Regions from separate parts of the Homo sapiens genome. Here region 2 is linked to region 1. Evidence: promoter capture Hi-C in 16 types of primary human blood cells and fetal thymus (Javierre and others, 2016). All regions are on one chromosome and are shown on one strand. The core of a region is centred on a gene start or on the middle of the fragment in contact, and the rest is flanking DNA. Distances in the headings are between cores, read along the strand shown.

The links. The method cuts DNA at HindIII sites, captures the fragments that hold promoters and counts their contacts. A CHiCAGO score of 5 or more calls a contact.
Region 2: a fragment that was not itself captured here is called in contact with the fragment with the promoter of SRP68 in region 1 in 1 of 17 cell types (endothelial precursors); the score reaches 5.0 in endothelial precursors.

What each region holds. Positions count from the first base shown.
Region 1 is chr17:76,068,797-76,076,245 of GRCh38, reverse strand. It overlaps SRP68 (signal recognition particle 68), which reads left to right and starts at 3,729. Exons shown (of 16, transcript NM_014230.4): 1 at 3,729-3,938; 2 at 5,802-5,868. The coding sequence starts at 3,755. GALR2 (galanin receptor 2) reads right to left here and starts at 1,465. Exons shown (of 2, transcript NM_003857.4): 1 at 995-1,465. The coding sequence starts at 1,362. RefSeq lists enhancers at 519-1,400, 2,787-3,614, 3,567-3,616, 3,615-4,442. The HindIII fragment of the contact is 7,541 bases long and covers 1-4,403 here.
Region 2 is chr17:76,199,271-76,206,719 of GRCh38, reverse strand. All of the region lies in intron 2 of RNF157 (ring finger protein 157), which reads left to right. It also overlaps the pseudogene ATP5MGP6. Among named protein-coding and RNA genes, the nearest start is that of RNF157, 37 kb to the left of the region's middle. The HindIII fragment of the contact is 1,105 bases long and covers 4,116-5,220 here.

The DNA.
Region 1 (7,449 bases), core at 2,480-4,979:
GGAGGGCGGAGGCGCCTGAGGCTCTAGCAGACAGCCTGGAGAAGACATGTTGGGCAAGGGACAGTTAATTTCTCAGGGGATTCCTGAGAGAATGCGAGCTTTGTGGATCCCACCAGCGCGCTCGGAACCAACGCACTTCGCGCTCAGTGGCTACAGGAGGTGTGGGGGCAGTCTGGCCTCGCCTCTCTGTTTTTCCAGAGGATGGAGAGGGGAAATACCCGGATTTCCTCCCCAGGAACCATCCCAGTGTCCTTTCAAGCTCCACCTGAGTCCCGCGCTCTCCCGAATGTGCGTCTCTCGCTCTCCTCTGGCTGGGGAGGAAGAACCCCAGGGCACGCTCCTCTCCCGGCCCCGACTTGTTTTGGATTTTATTTTGTTTTGTTTTGTTTGGAGGCGAGAGGCAGAGTGGGCTGGGACTGAGCTAGGGACCTTTAGGCACGCTCGCTGGGACTCCGGAGTGGATCCTTGCAAAGGACCCAAGATCCACAGCCTGGACCTGAGCCAGCTGCACCAACCAACCAAACCGTGGCTTGGAGGCGAGCGCAGTGGAGGCGCCTGAAGTTGGCTGCAGGAGACAGACGGTCACTTCACGCACCCGATCCCTGGCTGGCGACTCTGAGCGAGTTACTTAGGAACTCAACTCTTCTGTATATTGGGCACTTTGTCCTATCCCACCCTCACGGAGGGCATTAAGCTCAAGCGAGATGAACGCGCACAAACGCGTCGTACTGGGAAACGCTGCGCGTTGTCAGGCACGGGCGGCGCTGGAGAGCCACATTCTCCAGGCTTCCAGGCCCCAGGACGCATCTAACCGAGGGACACCACGGTCCCCCATTCTTATTCCTCTTTTTCCTCCTCCGCGCCCGCTTGTCTTCCACTGCCTTCTTAGTGTCCTGTCCCACTCTGCGCGTCCCTTCTTGGTCCCCAGTCCCGCCTCCCGCTCCATCCCCCGCGTGGATGCCCATCTCCCAGGGAGGCCAAGGCGCTGGCTCACCTGTCCAGGGAGACGGCGGCCAGCGTGAAGCTGCTGGCGTGCATGGTGAGGAAGATGAGGAAGTGCACCGCCTTGCACAGCAGCGAGCCGAACACCCAGCCGTCCAGGGTGTAGATGGTGGCCTGGAAGGGCACGCAGCACAGGATGAAACACAGGTCGGCCACGCCCAGGTTAAGGATGAACAGGTTGGTAGTGCTGACCGCCTGGCCGCCGCGCAGCAGCACCGCCAGCACCAGCGTGTTGCCCACGGTGCCCACGAGGAAGATGAGCGCGAAGAGCAGGGGCACGATGACCGCCTCGGGGTGCCAGCCTCCCCCGCCGCCCGCCTGGCTCGCGTTCCCGGCCCCTGGGCAGCCCGAGACGTTCATGGTGCCGCTGACCCCGAGGCTGCCCGGGCTCCTGCAGCCGTCTGGGTCTCCGCGAGCGGGAAGCTCCCGGGGCTGCGGCCGCTGCAACTCCTAGTGCGACTCTGCCGGGCTGAAGGCGGAGGGAGCCTTGCCTCATCTGGGGCGGGGATGGGGGTGCGCTGGGGTCAGGAGGAGGAGCAAGAGACAGGAGGGCGAGGTTGTCCCCAGCAGCGGCCGGCGGCGCTGGGGGAAGGGCTGCGGAGTGGTCCCGGCGCGCATTCCACGGCGCAGGCGGAGAGTGGCGCTTGTACCTGCTTCCGAGCTCCAGCCCCCGCAGTCGGGGGTTCTGGGCTGACCAGGCGGACTGACTTCCCCGGCAGACGCCGGAGCGGTGGAGGGGTCGACCCCGGACCCTGCGTGTGCGCCGCGCCGCAGGGAGCACGGACCTCGCACTCCGCGCGCCTCGGCGCTTCCCTGCAGCCTGGCAGGGGTGCAGGATATCCCGGGACCGTCGAGGGGCTGGGGTGCCCTCAAAAGAGGACCCCTGGGAGATCGGGGGGAGGAAACGCGGGGCGGAGGCGGATGAGGGGCCCCGGAGTCTGGCTCTTTCGCCCAGGCTAGAGTGCAGTGGCGCGATCTCGGCTCACTGCAACCTCCGTCTCCCGGGTTCAAACGGTTCTCCTGCCTCGGCCTTCTGAGGGGCTGGGACTACAGGCGTCCGCCACAACGTCTGGCTAGTTTTTTGTATTTGTATTTGTTGAGACAGAGTCTCACTCTGTCGCCCAGGCTGGAGTGTAGTGGCATGATATCGGCTCACTGCAACCTCCGCCTCCCGGGTTCAAGCGATCCTCCTGCCTCAGCCTCCCGAGTAGCTGGGATGACGGGCGCCTGCCACCACGCCTGGCTTATTTTCGTATTTTTAGTAGAAATGGGGTTTCACCATGTTGGCCAAGCTGGTCTCAAACTCCTGACCTCAAGTGATCCGCCCACCTCGGCCTCCCAAAGTGCTGGGATTACAGGCGTAAGCCACCGAGCCCGGCCACCTTTTTCCCTTCTCTTACCCATTGAACGTTTTCCCTCCAATTCAATCCAATATACTGAGCATCTATTGTGTCAGGCTCTGTCTTTGGCTCCATGCCTCAGTTTCCTCAGCTGTAACAAGGAAATGGTAACACTTCCTTCTAAGAGGGATCTGCTGAGAAAGGAATGAGATGTATGGGAGAGTTAGTTAAATCTGAATGCATCAGATCCTTATTCTTTTTCTCCTGACCTTATTCCGTATACCTTGAGGAAATTCAAAATAGAGTTCAGGGCCGGGCGCGGTGGTTCACGCCTGTAATCCCAGCACTTTGGGAGGCCGAGGCGGGCGGATCACGAGGTCAGGAGATCGAGACCATCCTGACCAACATGGTGAAACCCCGTCTCCACTAAAAATACAAAAATTAGCGGGACGTGGTGGCAGGCGCCTGTAATCCCAGCTACTCGGGAGGCTGAGGCAGGAGAATGGCTTGAACCCAGGAGGCAGAGGTTGCAGTGAGCCGAGATCACACCATTGCACTCCAGCCTGGGCAACAAGAGCGAAACTCTATCTAAAAAAAAAAAAAAAATCCGTCATTTAATCTTCCTAACAACCACTTAAATTGGTTATCCCCATTTCATAGATGAAGGAACAGATTTACAGGGAGATTAAGTTACGTGCCCAACATGTCCCTGCCGCTAATGACGGAGCGGGGATTGGAATCCCAGGTCTCAGACTCTAGAAGGTGCAAAGCAAAAATTCATATTTTCCCATGTCTCAACACTTCTCCCTCTTTGGACTGACGGCCCCAAAGTGCAGTGGTCCACGGCCCCAAGCGGTCTGAGAAAGTCACCCCGTTAGGACACCGTCTGCTGACTGCGCAGCGCTTCCTCCGGCTTGGCGTTCTTACGGCCAGCCTCAGAGGAAAGGGCAGGCAGAGGCGGGTCCCTTACGGACGGGGTGTCCCGTTCCGGTAGGGAGGACCCCATCTCTTGAGTCCCTGGGGATGCAGACACCCCGAAATCCAGTATCTTTGGTCTCCTGCTTTCTGCTGGGCAGGACGTGAACCAGATCCCCAGTCCAGGATGCAGGACCTGGGGTCCACCTCCGGTTCTCCGCCCTTAGTGGGTGGGAGGTGGGACTGCCCCCTGAGATCTCAGCAGCCACGGTCTCACTGCGGCCTCAAGTCCCCACCTAGCCAGCCACAATTCCGGACCCGGGATGACAGGATCCCTCGCGCAGGCGCGCTCCAGCACATGGCGCCCTGCTGCAGCAAGGGCCGACGGCGGCGGAGTCCGCCGCTATCCCATCAGCCCGGCCAGGCAGGTCCAGCTCTCACCCGCCCAGGTCGTCCCGCCTCCCCTATCCCGTCTTGCTCTGCGGCGCAGGGGCAAGATGGCTGCTGAGAAGCAGGTCCCAGGCGGCGGCGGCGGCGGCGGCAGTGGCGGCGGCGGTGGCAGTGGCGGCGGCGGTAGCGGCGGTGGACGTGGTGCCGGAGGGGAAGAAAATAAAGAAAACGAACGCCCTTCGGCCGGATCGAAGGCAAACAAAGAATTTGGGGATAGCCTGAGTTTGGAGAGTATCCTAGAGTAATCGGGCCTAACTCGCAATGATTACGTGTCGAACTGGAGGGCTGGGGGCGGGAGAGGCGGCGGGTCCCGACAAGTCCTGGCAGGAGAGGCCGAGGGTTGCAGTTTCTCTCGCCCTTACCTTTTGGTGCTCAGAATTCCGGGGGGGGTCTGTCTCTCGACTAGTCTTTCCTCGTGTCCCCCTCGCCGTCCTGGCTAGGTCCGTTTCTTCCAGTGGCACTGGGATATCAGGCAGGTTTCCCCTGGTGCCCCGCAGTTGTCCAGTTGGAGGGCTTGTGACCAAGTGACACCTTGAGCACCTTGCTTTGGCACCTTGAGCCACTGAACTGGGGAGAGGAAACTGCAGTCTTGACATTTGGCTTAATACTCTTGTCTGACAGTCGTCATAGACTGAGTAGTAAAACCTACAGCTCGATACTTTGAAAGTGGAGGTAAAGATTGACTCAGGAAAAGCTTGTTGCCCATTTTGATTGTAAGTTACCGTAGTTAATATCGATTGTGTCATTTTTTTCTGATCGGTCTGTAGGCATTTTATCTTGCTGACAGTCATTCATATAAGCTGGAGGAATCGGTTTCTAGTTTCCATCAGTGTGTATCTCAACCAAGTGCTTGTGGTACTAGTTTGTGACCTTTTGAAATGAATAACAAATGGAGAAAACGTAGGCGAGTTTCTGAAATAACACATTCAACTTGACATCTTAATGTGCTTAAAGTTCTCAGGCGCTTGGAGTTAAATATTTTGAATTACTGGTAATAGTTCCAAGTAGACGCTAGCGAGCCCTGATTTTACTGAGACCTTTATATCTCTTTGTCCCGTTTTAGTAATTTAAAGAGTCCTTTTAGCGTTCACTATTTTAAAATATGTCTCTAGAGAAGTGTTGAGGAAACATTAAAACTATACCTATATAGATGAAGGTCATTGGACTTTCTAAAGATTAGTACATAATCTTAAATATTTTAAGATTATTAAAAGGAGAATCTGGCCATTCTTCTTTTGAAAGAAAAACCTTAATACTTTTATGCAAACTGTAGCCTAGCTTGGTTGACATGTGCTAATCATAGACTCTCTAAGCATCACAGCTGTTAAGGAAAGTTAGATTTGGCAGGTGTTGGAGATTATGCAAATGGAGGCTTAGTACATGTCATTTATAACCTGAATCTGAATGAATAAAATGTGGGGTCTAGGTGTTAATTGGTGTGAAGCACCCCAATTATAGTCAGCATTTAGAATCCATCAGCTTAATTTAAACTGGGTTTTGGCAGTTTCCAGTGGCCAGTAGTGCCCTCCTTTTTCAGTTTGCAAGTAGTAACAGTTCAGGCAATCAGTTTTCCTGTAGGTTAGCCCTGTCCTGTGACAAGATAGATATTGAAAATGGTTACAAAAGATCTCACCAGTGTACTAAATATTTCACAAATTTGTGTGTGTGTGTGTGTGTGTGTGTGTGTGCATGTGCATGTGTGACTGAATCTCACTCTCACCTAGGCTGGAGTGCAGTGGCGCTGTCTTGGCTCATTGCAACCTCTGCCTTCCAAGTTCAAGCGATTCTCCTGCCTCAGCCTCCCGAGTAGCTGGGATTACAGGTGCTAGCCATTGCGCCCGGCTAATTTTTTGTGTTTTTAGTAGAGACGGGGTTTCACCATGCTGGCCAGGCTGGTCTTGAACTCCTGACCTCAGGTGATACACCCGCCTCGGCCTCCCACAGTGCTGGGATTACAGGCATGAGCCACCGTACCTGGCTATATTTCACAAATGTTTAATGTGTTGTGGTTTGACACAGATATAGACTGATGGTACAGGTTTTGATTTGTTTGGATTCTTGCTATGGTAAGATTTTCCTTAATCTCGACTCTAGTTCTTCAGATTATTAAGGAATCCCAGCAGCAGCATGGTTTACGGCATGGAGATTTTCAGAGGTACAGGTTAGTATCACATACAAGATGTTTGGAAATCATTGTGGGACTTGCTTTGCTTTTGTTAATATCCTGTTTACTCTGCTATATCAGCAAATATGCTAGAAAGTCTAGAGCATTGTTTTTTTTGTTTGTTTGTTTGCTTTGTTTTTTTTTTTTTTTTTGAGATGGAGTCTCGCTCTGTCGCCAGGCTGGAGTGCAGTGGCGCAATGTTGGCTCACTGCAACCTCCACCTCCTGGGTTCCAGCGATTCTCCTGCCTCAGCCTCCTGAGTAGCTGTTTTTTTTGTTTGTTTGTTTGTTTGTTTTTTGAGATGGAGTCTCACTCTGTCACCCAGGCTGGAGTGTAGTGGCGCAATCCTGGCTCACTGCAGCCCATGCCTCCCGGGTTCAGGTGATTCTCCTGCTTCTGCCTCCAGAGTACCTGGGATTATAGGCATGTGCCACCATGCCTGGCTAATTTTTGTATTTTTAGTAGAGATGGGGTTTCGCCATGTTGGCCAGGCTGGTCTCAAACTCCTGACCTCAGGTGATCCACCCACCTCAGCTTCCCAAAGTGTTGGAATTACAGGCGTGAGCCACCGTGTCTGGCCTATTTCTTTTTTTTTTTTTCTTTTAAATAATCTATACCCTGGTAGCTTTGATTGAGATGCTGAAGTAGTATTTATTTTATTTATTTTTGATACGGAGTCTCACTCTGTTGCCCAGGCTGGAGTATAGTGGCGCGATCTCGGCTCACTGCAACCTCCGCCTCCCGGGTTCAAGTGATTCTTCTGCCTCAGCCTCCTGAGTGGCTGGGACTGAAGGCACATGCCACCATGCCCGGCTAATTTTTAGTAGAGACAAGATTTCACCATGTTGGCCAGGCTGGTCTTGAACTCCTGACCTCAGGTGATCCACCTGCCTCAGCCTCCCAAAGTACTGGGATTACGGGTGTGAGCCAATGTGCCTGGCCTATTTATTTATTTTTATTTCATTTTATTTATTTACTTATTTTTTTGAGACAGAGTCTTTGTCTGTCACCCAGTCTGGAATGCAGTGGCACGATCTCGGTGTACTGCAACCTCCGCCTTCCGGGTTCAAGCAGTTCTCCTGCCTCAGCCTCCCGAGTACCTGGGACTACAGGCATGCACCACCATGCCTGGCTAATTTTTGTATTTTTAGTAGAGATGGGGTTTCACCATGTTGCCCAGGCTGGTCTCGAACTCCTGACCTCAAGTGATCTGCCTGCCTCAGCCTCCCAAAGTGCTAGGATTACAGGCGTGAACCACCACGCCCGGCCCCTGAAGTAGTATTGAAATATCATTTTGTATTGTAAATTATGTGCTGTATTACTTTGACTTAAAGGTTGGTGCAATTTTATATATATATATATTTATTTATTTATATATATATTTTAAACTAATTTAGTCAAAATGTATGTATTGAACATCTGCATATTAGACACTGTGGTAAGGCATTGTGGAAAATTTAAAAATGAAATCCTAGCTGGAATGGTGGCACATGCCATAGTGCCAGTTACTTGGGAGGATGAGGCCCGAGAATTGCTTAAGCCCCGGAGTTCGAGCCCAGCCTGGGCAACAGCAACATA
Region 2 (7,449 bases), core at 3,419-5,918, 130 kb before region 1:
GAGATCCCAAGATCACGCCATTGCAGTCCAGCCTGGGCAACAAGAGCGAACCACCATGCCCAGGTAATTTTTTGTATTTTTAGTAGAGACAGGGTTTCACTATGTTGTTCCAGGCTGGTCTCGAACTCCTGACCTCAGGCAATCCACCCACCTCGGCCTCCCAAAGTGCTAGGTGGCATGAGCCACCTTGGCCGGCCTCTTCACTGGTTTTTAAATACTGTCTTAAGTAGTAAACTGGGCTTCTGAAGGTCTTTCTGCTCTGGTCCCTTATATAAAGGAACTAAGGTATCTGTGAATCAGTTACAAAATGTTAAATAAAGACCATCCCTTCCCTTCCTAGGTGGCAGAAGAGCTGGTGTTGCTTTTCTGCTCCTTTATTGAGTTAGATCTTGTTTTGTTGGGATAATTACTGCCCAACTCTAAGTTATTAGAGGCTTAGAAATTAGTCAAGTAATGCCTTGACTCCTTCCTGGCCTTTTTTTTCCTTTTGAGACAAGGTCTTGCCCTGTTGCCCAAGCTGAGGTACAGTGGCACAACTACAGCTCACTGCAGCCTCGACTTCCTAGGCTTAAGTGATCCTCCCACCTCAGATTCTCCAGTAGCTGGGACTACAAGCACGCCCCACCATGCCTGGCTTTTTAAAAAAAATTTCTATAGAGAGAATGTCTTACTACATAGCCCAGGCTGGTCTCAAACTCCTTTGCTCAAGTAGTCTTCCTGTCTTGGCCTCTGAGAGTGCTGGGATTATAGCTATGAGCCACTGTGCCCCACCTCTGCCTGCCTTTTGTAGGCAGGAGTTCAAACCGCTCCTCTCATTTTATAAGGAAAGTAGTTGAGTTTTAACCTAGTTCCTAATAGTCTGTATCCTCTCGTGTGTTCTGTAGCTGGGCCGCATTGACACAGTTTCTTCTTCCTCATGCTCCCTGCAATCAGAGCTGCACAGCTGGCATTATTATTTTATTTATTTATTTATTTATTTATTTATTTATTTATTTAGAGATGGAGTCTTGCTCCGTCGCCAGGCTAGAGTGCAGTGGCACGATCTTGGCTCACTGCAACCTCTGCTTCCCAGGTTCAAGCAATTCTTCTGCTTCAGCCTCCCAAGTAGCTGGGACTACAGGCACACACCACCACGCTCAGCTAGTTTTTGTATTTTTAGTAGAGACGGGGTTTCACCATCTTGGCCAGGATGGTCTCAATATCTTGACCTCGTGATCTACCCATCTCAGCCTCCCAAAGGGCTGAGCCACTGCGCTCAGCCGCTGGCATTATTTTAAGAACTAAAATGTGCCCGGCATGGCGGCTTATCCCTATTCCCAGCACTTTGGGAGGCTGAGGCGGGAGGATCACTTGAGGCCAGAAGTTTGAGACCAGCCTGGGCAACATAGCAAAACCCCGACTCTACAAAAAAAAATTAGCCAGGGGTGGTGGTACACACCTATATTCCTAGCTACTTGGGTGGTTGAGGCTAGAGGATTACTTGAGCCCAGGAGGTCAAAGCTGCAGTGAGCCATGATTATGCTACTGCACTCTAGCCTGGGCTACAGAGCATGACCCTGTCAAAAAAAAAAAAAGAAAGAAAAAAAGAAAAGAAAAGAGGAAGGGAGGGAACGAGGGAGGGAGGAAGGAAGGAGACTGGGCATGGTGGCTCACGCCTCTAATCCCAGCACTTTGGGACACCGAGGCAGGTGGATCACTTGAGGTCGGGAGAGATCAAGACCAGCCTGGCCAACATGGTGAAACCCTGCCTCTACTAAAAATACAAAAATTAGCTGGGCGTGGTGGCAGGTGCTTGTAATCCCAGCTACTCAGGAGGCTGAGGCAGGAGAATCGCTTGAACCCAGGATGCACAGGTTTCAGTGAGCCGAGATCGCACCACTGTACTCCAGCCTGGGTGATAGAGTGAGAGTGAGACTCAGTCTCAAAAAAAAAAAAAAGAAAGAAAGAAAGAAAAGAAATAAGATGCATACAGTGTACTTTTCTTCTTTCTCTAGTACAGATAGACCAAAAGTTGTACTCAAATCCAGTTTCTGTAAATTGAACCCTATTATCATATGTGTCAGGAAGAGCAAGTTATTTAAAGGAACTTGGTAGTATATCCATTTGTAACATAGAGTTTTGCACTTATAGAGCTTTGTGGCAAAAAAAGAGAACATGATTCTGTTAGTCCCGGTGCTATTCATTCATTCAACAAGTATTTATGAGTCACATACTGTGCTGGGAACTAGGAATGCAGAGATGAAAAGACATGACCCTTGACCTGAAGATGCTTGCTGCAGAGTGGGGCAGCTGATGTGCCCCCACTGCGAGGGACTGTGATAGGTTCTACGAGAGAGGACCAGAGTGCCCTGGAGCACAGACCAGTGGGGATGCCCTCTCTCCAGGGAAGGGGCTTCTGGGAGGGGACTCCTTTAACCTGGAGGGATAAGTAGGATTTCCTAGGTAGGGGAGATGAGGAGAGGCATCTGAGGCAGAATTAATTAATAAGCAATACAAGGAAGCATAAAGATGCAGAAGTGTGCTTTTGGCGCTCAGAGTGGTGAGTAGTCAATAAGTATTGGACTGTGAGGGATGCTGGTTGGAGTTGAGGCTGGAAAGACAAATTGGGTTCATATCTGAAGAGCTATGAATATTGTATTAAGAAGTTTTTATGGGCTGGGCGCGGTGGCTCACGCCTGTAATCCCAGCACTTTGGGAGGCTGAGGAGGGCAGATCACGAGGTCAGGAGATCGAGACCATCCTGGCTAACACAGTGAAACCCCGTCTCTACTAAAAATACAAAAAATTAGCCGAGCATGGTGGCGGGCGCCTGTAGTCCCAGCTACTCAGGAGGCTGAGGCAGGAGAATGGCGTGAACCCGGGTGGCGGAGTTTGCAGTGAGCCGAGATCGTGCCACTGCACTCCAGCCTGGGCGACAGAGCGAGACTCCGTCCCAAAAAAAAAAAAAAAAGCAACAAAACTTTTTACAGGCCAGGCGTGGTGGGTCATGCTTGTAATCCCAGCACTTTGGGAGGCTGAGGCGGGGAGGTCACCTTAGGTCAGGAGTTTAAGACCAGCCTGGCCAGCGTGGTGAAACCCCGTCTCTACAAAAATACAAAAATTAGCCAGGCATGATGGCGGGTTCCCGTAATCCCAACTACTCAGGAAGCTGAGGCAGGAGAATTGCTTAAACCCAGGAGGCAGAGGTTGCAGCGAGCTGAGATTGCGCCATTGCACTCCAGCCTGGGTGACAAGAGCAAGACTCCATCTCAAAAAAAAAAAAAAAAAGTTTTTACTTTTCCTTCTATGGCAGTAAAGGTCATAGTCATGAATGGCTTTGCCACTGACTGACTTTGTCATGTTGGTTAAGACGATGGCCAATCAGTGAGTCTCAATTTCCCCATCTATAAAATTACCTTGCAGGAATATTTTAAGGACTCAAAAAATGATGGCGGGACCTGATGGCTGACGCCTGTAGTCGCAGCATTTTGGGAGACTGAGGTGGGTGGATTGCTTGAGGCCAGGAGTTTGAGACCAGCCTGGCCAACATGGCGAAACCCTGTCTCTACTAAAAATACAAAAATTAGCCAGGCATGGTGGTGCATGCCTGTAATCCCAGCCGCTTGGGAGGCTGAGGCATAAGAATCGCTTGAACCCAGAAGGCGGAGGTTGCAGCGAGCGGAGATCATGCCACTGCACTCCAGCCTGGGCTGGACGAGACCCTCTCTCAAAAAAAAAGATAACTATTACAATCTAATTTGCATTTTAGAAAATTAATTCTATAAATTAATTCACAGTATAGGTAATGAATCAGAGAGACAGAAAATAAGAAGACCAGTTAGGAAGTAATTTATTTTAAGAAAAAATACATGAAATAACTGAATAGGATTAACAGCATTGCAAATAAACATGGTGCAGACTTTCTACCCTAGAACCATGGACCAATTTATAACCTTGCAGAGAAGGCCCCAGGGCTGATGATCATTGTTGTGACTTGTTTGAAGCCTCGATTGGCCACTTTTTGGTACTATGCCAAGGCTGAGCTGCTTCCTCCAACCCCTGGTGAGATCCCTAGAACTATTCAGAGCCTGAAAAAAAAAATAGTAGCGCTCTAATAGCTCACAGTTAAGGAAGCTTTGCTGAATGATGTGGTCCACACATGAGGTGTGGACGTGATTTTATGTCAGAGAGCTCACAGGCAAGTGTGGCATCATTGCTGTAATCTTTGAAGACCCATCTTTAACATCTGATTACATTTGATTTATGACTTGTGTGTTCTTGGACCATGTGTGATCAGACTAAAATGTGTCTAAAAAACAGAAAATAAAATGAATGCAGTGCAGATTAGAGAATTGCAGCAGTGTGAGTTGAGGCAAAGGACACTCCAAGGAACAGCCTCTGTGAGAGGCCACCACTTACCCCAGATGCTGTGCACGTGTTATGTTTGGAGATTTATTTGTGCCTTGGACTTGGAGTAACTGGCCTAATAGGTCACATCACAAGGACCTGGCACTTAACTGCCCTACAGGCCTAAAGCCCATGGTGGGAACGGGTGTCTTTCTCATGCACGTGTGTGTGTGTGTGTGTGTGTGTGTGTGTGTGTGTGTGTGTGAGAGAGAGAGAGAGAGAAACTGAGATTGGGTTATTTGCCTTTTGCATGCTATCTTCTTTCCTTCTTCCTTCCTTTATAATTTTACTACAATTTTTTTTTGTCCTTTAGCCTGGAAATATTGATTAAATTTTGAGCTGTGCGTACCCTTTGGCCCAACTGTTTCACCTCTCCGAATCTCTCCTACAGAAATATTTTGAAGAGTGTGAAATGATTCCTATTTACAATGTATATTGTAGCATTACTTGTAGTAGTGCAAAATTAGAAAATATCTAATGGCCATTATAGTGGAATGGTTAAATAAATTATAATGTGCCTATGCCATGAACTGTTATTCAGCAAAAATTAGATAGATCTGCGTCCACTGAGATGGCAATATGTCCACAACCACATGACTTACTGAATAAAGCAAGTTGCAGTGTATAATGTAGAGTCTGATTTCATTTCGGATAAAAATAATATATGTATGTGTGTGCATTATGTACATATATTTATAGCTACACAAATATACTATTACAATGCATTTTGAACTGTTAACAATGGTAACTCTTGGGATATATCAAGAAGGGGGGTATTCACTTCTTAATTCATATTTTCTAAAATTTTCTTTATTTTTTTTTTAGAAATAAGCTTGTTCTGTCACCCAAGCTGGAGTGCAGTGGTGCAATCATAGCTCACTGTAACCTGGAACTCCTGGGCTCAAGCAGTCCTCCTGCCTCAGCCTTCCTGGTAGCTGGGACTACAGATACATGACACCATGCACAGCTAATTTAAAATTTTTTCTTTTTCTCTTTTTTTTTTTTTTTTTGTAGAGACTAGGGTCTCACTATGTTGCCAAGGCTGGTCTTGAACTCTTGGGCTCAAACAATCCTCCTGCCTCAGCCTCCCAAAGTGCTGGGATTACAGGTGTGAGCCACTGTGCCCGGCTCTTCATATTCTTCTATGTTGTTTGAATTTTTTCCAGTGAACGTGTTTTCATTTTTAAATGAAAAGTATTTTAATTTTCTTTAAAAATAGAGGTGGAAATACTTCTAAGTAGAGGAAGGAAATAGGTTTAGAAGAATATTTAGAAGTAGGAAAATTAAGGGAGTTCACAAAATAATGGTTTTAATTTTTTAGTGAACTACAGGAAAGGTAGGGTCTGCTCGCTGGGGTTGGGATGTGTGCCAGGAAGTGTCTGGGGGCTTGCGGAGAAAGACAGAAAACCAGAGTAAGCATGGGGAGGAGGAGAGTCAGGGAGCTCGGTCCTCTTGGTGCCAACATGCAGTAATTCACCTTTAGAAACAGTTGATTCGAAATGGTATGAGATTCAGTATGGAAGTGGCCTGCTTTTCAGCAACCTGACAGTAAAAGAACTAGAGGATGAATATTCATACTTTTAAAATGGTTTAGGGCTTTAAAGAGTTTCACTTAAGGCATTCTTATAATACATGTCTCCCTACTTCCACGCCTTCCCCAGGGGTGACCACCCTGCTCATCACACATCGTTGTACAGTCTCCAGAACTCCTTTCATCTCACAAAACTGAAACTCTGTCCCCACTGGACACTGACTCACCATTTCCCTCTCCTACCAGCCTCTGGCCTCCACCATTCTGTTTTCTGCCTCTATGAGTTTGACTACTCTAGGTACCTCATACGAGTTGAATCATAGAATATTTGTTCTTTTGTGACTGGCTTATTTCACTTGGCATGTGCTTGGTTCATCCATGTTGTAGCATGTGTCAGAATTTCCTTTTTAAGGCTGAATAATATGCCATTATATCGATACACTGTATATCCATTCATCCATCAATAGACAGACACTTGGGTTGCTCCTGCCTTTTGGCTATTGGGCTAGGGAAGAAATGCCTCGGTTTTTTTTGGTTTTTGTTTTTGTTTTTTTTTTTGACAAGACGGAGTCCCGCTCTGTCGCCCAGGCTGGCATGGAGTGGCGCGATCTTGGCTCACTGCAAGCTCCGCTTCCCAGGTTCACAGCATTCTCCTGCCTCAGCCTCCGGAGTGGCTGGGACTACAGGCGCCCGCCACCACACCCGGCTAATTTTTTTTTTTGTATTTTTAATAGAGACGGGGTTTCACTATGTTAGCCAGGATGGTCTCGATCTCCTGACCTCGTGATCCGCCCGCCTCGGCCTCCCAAAGTGCTGGGATTACAGGCGTGAGCCACCGCGCCCGACCTGAAATGCCTAGTTTTATGAAATTATGTAGGCTTGTTGTAGGTTCAGTTTTGAAATTTAACTTGTTTTTATGTTCTTACAAAAAGCACTTTATTCAACTTATATTACTTTTCATCCTTAATAAAGATGAGGACATTATCCCTCTGTTTTATGGAGTTGGATTTCTATGGTAGGTGGATCTTCAGAGAGACGGGGTCCCAGTAGCATGAGCAGGTGGCAGTAGGATGGAGACCAGCGAGCTGCGTCACCAAGTGCAGTCACACTTCACGTTGAGATCACCAGTGATAAGAAGGGGCACTCCCAGAGAAGTTGAATCAGTGTTTATACCTATTAGTATTGATGTGGCTCTTCCTGCCAGCTGTTCTTTTTTTTTTTTTTTTTTTTTTAACTTTCAGCTGCTTTTGGCAGGGCACAGTGGCTCACATCTATAAACCCAGCACTTTGGGAGGCCAAAGTGGGAGGATCACTTGAGCCCAGGAGTTCAAGACCAGCCTGGGCAACATAGTGAGACCCTCTACAAAAAATAAAGGAAATTAGCTGTGTATGATGGAGCGTGCCTATAGTCCCAGCTACTCAAGAGGCTGAGGTGGAAGGATCACTTGAGCCTGTGAGGTTGAGGCCACAGTGAGCTGTGATCAAGCCACTGCACTCCAGCCAAAACCAATTTGGAATATAAGTACACTGGG